2 separate regions of the Homo sapiens genome follow, and region 1 is linked to region 2. Evidence: promoter capture Hi-C in 16 types of primary human blood cells and fetal thymus (Javierre and others, 2016). All regions are on one chromosome and are shown on one strand. Each heading gives the region's core, a stretch centred on a gene start or on the middle of the fragment in contact. The rest is flanking DNA. Distances are from core to core; before and after follow the strand shown. Region 1 overlaps CREBZF (CREB/ATF bZIP transcription factor). Region 2 holds the start of RAB30 (RAB30, member RAS oncogene family).

Region 1 (3,082 bases), core at 109-2,608, 2.6 Mb before region 2:
TGCATTTTATAATCACTAAATTAATCTCTCTCTCTTCTCTTTGAACAGCTTAGCAGTGTCTGCAAAAACGAATCTTTTCCTACAACCTGTTAACTGACTGGACTGTTGGTAACAAAGTAATTGTGAGAACCATGTCGGTCAAAAATTTGGCATCTGCTGAAAAAAATGAATGCCATTTTCAAGTTCCCAAATTACTTCTATACTGATTTCACTTTCCAGAAATGGAGATATGAAAAGATTCTCTGGAATCCTTGAAAGACTTAATAGAGATACATGAGACTAAGTTAATCTTGGAACAAAATTATACTTTTTTTGTCTTTCATGGGAGTGATACTCAGTTATTGCATATCTTTACAAAATTGTAACCTTTGGAGAATTACAGTATTTCATCAAGAAATTAGAGTTTTTACATAATCAAGAGCATATTCTATGGAATTAACATTTAGTGGACTAGAATTACATAAGCAGGCCATCAGTGATCACAAGGCATATGAGTTTGTATTTATTTCCTGGAACATGAGAGCTAATTTGGAGTACAGACAGACACCCTGCTGAGTAGAATATAAAAGTTAATGTAAAGTTCTGAACTATAAAGAGTAGTCCTTTTAAATAGATGCATTGATTTGTATATCTTTGAAAAAGTTGATTATGATTAAATGTGTGGGTAGTTAATTACAATTTAGGGTAACAACCAGGATGTATGGATTCTTGAGGTTTTGGCTTCTTGAGCTTTCTCTTGAGTACTTGATACTGTTTTCTGAATATTTTGAGGTTTCTAATTAATGGTATGCTAGTTTCTACTGTTTTATATAAAAATTTATCTAGTGTTGTATAAGGACTTTAGTATTGTGGATGATGGGAGTGGCTTTTTGTGGCATATGGTTGTTTTAATTGAAATATTTTTTCAGTTTATTACAAGTGTGAAAAAACACTCAAAACTCTGGATTGTTTTATTTCATTTTTGTTGGATTATGTTAATACATTCCTTCACGTGGTTTAGATTGAGTCATTTTATCTCACTTACTTGGAAATGTGCAGCTGATAGAAGAGGGATTGGGTAGGAGATTGGCTTTTACTTCATAATAAATATACAGTTGGTTATTGTATTATTCAAAACTTATTAAATCCATTCAGTTTCTTACCATTTTAAGTGTATTCAGTGCCTGTGAAGCCAGGCAGCAGAGTATTCCCACTGGCTTAAAACTTAGGCGCTGATGCTCCTACAGTACAGCTAGTTATAATTCCAGAACCAAAGGCACCAACATTATTTGGTGACCTTAACTACTACTTTGATAGAACAGACTGGGTAATTCACTGATAATGAGTCATTACCTTTTTAATATGTGATTATCTAGTTCAGCATTTTGAATGTGTAGTTTAAGGTCTGATTTAGTAAAATTTTAAAGCTAAATAATCTGATGACTCTTGAAAGTTTAATTGGTAGTATGACATTTATGTTTTTTTCCCCCAGACTCACAGCCAATACAAAGTTTTGAGACTCCTAAATGTTAATATTTTTGCTGTTTTTCTGAGCTGTTTTTTTATTTACTTACCACCTAAGCTGCGGATCAAAAAGGGAATTCTTCCATTAGAAATTTGTAGTGTTGTGTGGCCAGCACAGTATTTTTCAGATTTGAATTTCAGTACCTCTGTGTAGCCTCAGTACTCTCAACACCAGTCACTCTTTATTGTCTTAAAATATTCCATACTTTTTGTTGACCCAAAATTGTTGAAAATATTTTGCTCAGTTTTCACAATGAACTAATTGAAAAGTGTAGTTACTGTGTTGTAAACATTTGTGTAGTTCTGTTAATACACTGATTTGAATTTTATTTATCTCAACTTCCTTTAGCGTCTGCCTCCAAATTTTGTCTTTGCTGTATACCCACTGAGATCAATTCCCTAGACCCCTCTGGCTCTTAGTGTACTATAATTTGGGCTTTATAAAATATATTGTCTTAATTTAAATAGAATGTGAGCCCTCTTTTTTTTTTTTTAAGCCAAATAACTACACAAAGTAAATTATAAAAGATTTAAATAGTTTGTCTACAGTGACTAGACTGAAATATAAAAATTGATTGAGGGTAGTTTACTTCAGGTGTTAGCTACAAATGACTAAATGTCCTTAAATAATGCAGATATCTGCCCTCTGAACAAAAATTTTGGCAAAGTAAATTTGTAGCAACAGACTTAACATGATTTATTGCTTATGTTGCCCATTTCTGCTAATGGAAAAGATAATTTAAAAATATGTGGCAGAGGACAGATATTAGAAATACTTTTTGGTTACAGAAACCATTGTAAACTCATCCTCATTTATAAATGGTATTATGCTAGGGAGTAATTGGACTAGGAATGTTTAAAGATAAGTAAGGAAACAATGTGTGCTCAATCGTCAAAGAACTTAGTTATATCATTGGGCTTTGAATTATCTAAGTTGATTACATAATTCTATATTCTTAAGGAGTCTTAACTCGGTACTTGGGTTAACGCCAGAAATTACTTTTAATTCATTGTTTTTTTCACTGGGATGAGTAGAACTCTGCTTTTAGTAAAAGTGACAGAATATAGGTAAAATGGATGATTTGGGATCAGAGCTTTTCATCTTGATATTTTAGCCTGTAAAATAAACAGCTATATTGTTTTGCCCTTTAAATGTTATATATATTTTTCTGTCTTTCTTTCCCTAGTTGTAAAAGTAAAGCATATTCTTTATAGAAAACTTGGAATATCCTGAAAGGAATCAAGAAGAAAAGAAAAATCACCCTTATAACTCTATAAGCCATAGAATATCCACAGTAAACATTTTGGCATGCTTCCTTTCAGTCTCTTGTGCACATAGATTCTTTTGCCTCATAACTGGGATCATTTTTTATATAAGTTTGGTAGATAATATATTTTATGTGCCTGTTGAAAGAACAAATCATCTTTGCTTTCTGAAAAATTGAGATTGTATTTTATTAATTTCACATGAGTTTTTCATCTTTGGCAGCACAGCTTTATGTTTTTCTTTAAACAGAAGCTAAAGGCCAGTTTCACTCACAAAGATGCCTTTTCTAAATTATAATTTTAAGTAGCATAA
Region 2 (2,880 bases), core at 1-2,500:
TATTGCCAGACGTCAGAAGGCCTATCATCAATAATATCCCACCCCTCCCGCCTTTTCTGAGACACGGGCTTGCTGTCGCCCAGGCTGGAGCACAGTGGTAGGATCGAGGCTCACTGCAGCCTCAACATCCCGGGCTCAAGCGATCCTCCCACCTCAGCCTCTAGTGTAGCTGCAACTACAGGGGTACACCACCATGCCCAGCTAATTTTTTTGTTTAATGTTTTTGTAGAGACGGTACGGGGTCTCCGCATGTTGCCCAGGCTGGGGTTGAACTCCTAGAATCACGCTATCTCCCCGCGTCTGCCCCCAAAGTGCTGGGATTAAAGGCGTGAGCGACCGCACCTGGCCAATATCCCCTTTGAACATCTGCTTTCGCTGGTTGGTAAAAAAGTGTCATTTTAAATTTAGTGTTACTCCTTCAGGCTATTCCCTCTCTCTTCTTACTTGCAGGGCCAAAGCAACGTCTCTTTCCACCTTGGTCACCTTCCAACAACGATTTCTTCGGACGCCTTTGTTAATCATTCCTGTATGAAAAATCAGTGAATCTGAAGCTTTGGGGAGAGTGAAAGGGGGTTGGAAAACAAACGGCAAAACAAAAATGCATTTCGGAGGACTACCCCAACTCTGTGGGTGGAAGTGGGCTTCTCCGAATAAAGGCGAGGGTCGCCGCCTCGGGTCCTCGCACCTCAACAAAAGACACCAACTCTCTCAACTGTACTGTTAACAGATCTAAATGATACTCCAAGCCCAAAAGTAAACCGACTCTCTCAATCTCTTAGCTAAAAAATGGAGAAGGAAGCGTAGGGCCCCATGCAACCCCTTCAGGAGCTGAGACCGAGGCTCACTGGGCCTCTGGATGCCGCTTCCAGTCGGTCCCGCCCTACATCAGTCCCCAGCATGGCCTCCACCCTCTGGTTCCCAGGTTCGTGCCCGCGGCTATCCGACCAGATCGTCCTCCACCTCACCGTCCCCACTGAACCACCACTTGACTCCTGCGCACCCCTAAAACCTCTGCCCGGCTCCGCGGAATCGTCCCAGTACTCCTAACATGGCGGCCGAGTCCCCTTTGCTCCTTCACTCTGGGCGCGTCCCACTTGGAGCATTTTGGGCATTGTAGTTTCGGGGATTGCCTGGGTATCCCTTCAGGACGTAAGAAGACTACAGTTCCCAGAAAGCACCGCTCCCGAGCATGGCTATTGGGGACGTTTGGACAGAGGGATGATGTCATTGCAAAAGCCCCACTGCATTCATTGTGCTACGGTCTCTCCACCCCCTGCTGCTGCTGGGCTTGCGATTGCCGCTCGCTCCAGCTGAGCTAAGTGTAGCAGCAGCACCAGGGCAGGGACTGACTCCAGCCCTTGGACTCAGGACATCGCAGACCTTCCCTTGCGTGCGTGACTCATTCGCACATCCATTTCTGTTTATGCCTGGGGTGGGGAGAAAAATCCCAAACCAGGTGAGTTGAAGTGATTTATTCAAATGCTTCTACCAAGTTATTCCTCCCGCTTAGTTCTCAAGGCTTTCTTTTGGGAAGCTGTGAGCGGTGGGGAGGTGGGGGGGATTGGGGAGAGGCTTGCAGGCACAGCTAAGGGGAAAAGCTCTGTGCCATTTGGGTCACTGCAAAGAACAACTCCAGCAACCTTCCCCCGCCAGAGGACGGGTGCCTGCCAATTCCCTAGTCGCAACTCCTCTCAACCTTTTTGAGGCGGAGAGAGGGGGCTGGGCTGGGAAGGATGTTGGGGAGTGCTCTTGGAAAATCTGAGGAAGGCAGAGGTGGGGGACTGCAGTCCTGTCACACACGGCCCGAGAGCTGAGGTTTGAGTGGGAAGGGGTGATGCGTGGGGAGAAATGGAGACAGTGAATTAATGTGGTCGCACTACTTTAGAACATTTGAATGTCGCTTGGACGAGCACTAGTTATTAATTTTTAAGATGAACGTGCTTAAGTTTTGTAGGGCTTTATTTTATGTGTGTATGTCTATGTGGTTTGTCTCGCCTTTTCTGCTGATTTGAGGTGACAGTGTCCTTTAATGGTGCACTCCGTGCCAGTCAGAAACATTTCACGTGTCTGGCGAAGGTTCTTTCAGGCTGCTGGAAGCAGCGTTTTTGTTAAATGTTTTCCGTTCTCCGACTGCTGGATTCAAGATTGTTTGGAAGTGGAGCCGACAGATTTGTGCTTGTGTGTTTTAAATTACATTGCATAGGCTCTTTGCCACTGACAATGGTACCATAATGAGCTGCTGTTTCCTGAGGCATAGTCACTACTCACAAATAACGGTTTGAAGAGATCGATTAGGGAAGAGGGGTTCATTTTAACACATTAGAGAAAGGGAAAGTTAGAAGCGCTGTTAACCTTCATTTGCCATTACTGAAAGGTGCCCATGGAAGAGTGATTTTGGTTGTTTTGTTATTGTTGTTTTTTTAAACGAACTGACATTTAACAGGAGAGAAAGCATTCTGACTTACATGATGCTCTTGTAAGAGTTATAGGGATAATTAGGGCAATAGATATGTTACTTTGAGATAAACAGCTGGCTGGCTCCACAACAGATGGGGCCAGTCTTGGCTGAGAGATCTACACCCTTGGAAATGAATGGGCCTGGGGTCAACCACACCCCCTCTTGGAATGTCAAAAGAAGGAGAAATGCCAGAGTATTTGCTTAACTCTAGAATGCTAAACCTTTTCCTAGCTGAGTCAGACATGGGCGAAATTCTTTACTGGCTGTCTTCTGCTGCTAAGCCAATTTTGTTCATTTTAAATTCAGATCCTTAGGTCTCCAAAGTTGTAGCTGTGTGATATTTCATTAAATGCTGCTTGATGCTGAATGCAAAGGACAGTCCATTGTATGGGCTTTGTAGTAGAGTGATTTATTGGGATGCC

What was found. The method cuts DNA at HindIII sites, captures the fragments that hold promoters and counts their contacts. A CHiCAGO score of 5 or more calls a contact.
Region 1: a contact is called between a fragment that was not itself captured here and the fragment with the promoter of RAB30 in region 2, in 1 of 17 cell types (naive CD8 T cells). The highest score is 6.4, in naive CD8 T cells.

What each region holds. Positions count from the first base shown.
Region 1 is chr11:85,657,564-85,660,645 of GRCh38, reverse strand. It overlaps CREBZF (CREB/ATF bZIP transcription factor), which reads left to right. Exons shown (of 1, transcript NM_001039618.4): 1 at 1-2,656. Among named protein-coding and RNA genes, the nearest start is that of CREBZF, 6.0 kb to the left of the region's middle. The HindIII fragment of the contact is 4,467 bases long and covers 1-3,082 here.
Region 2 is chr11:83,070,267-83,073,146 of GRCh38, reverse strand. RAB30 (RAB30, member RAS oncogene family) reads left to right here and starts at 1,250. Exons shown (of 5, transcript NM_001286060.2): 1 at 1,250-1,456. It overlaps RAB30-DT (RAB30 divergent transcript), which reads right to left and starts at 1,081. Exons shown (of 3, transcript NR_038903.1): 1 at 1,001-1,081; 2 at 343-524. It overlaps LINC02951 (long intergenic non-protein coding RNA 2951), which reads left to right. Exons shown (of 3, transcript NR_186233.1): 3 at 451-745. RefSeq lists an enhancer at 808-1,297. The HindIII fragment of the contact is 10,527 bases long and covers 554-2,880 here.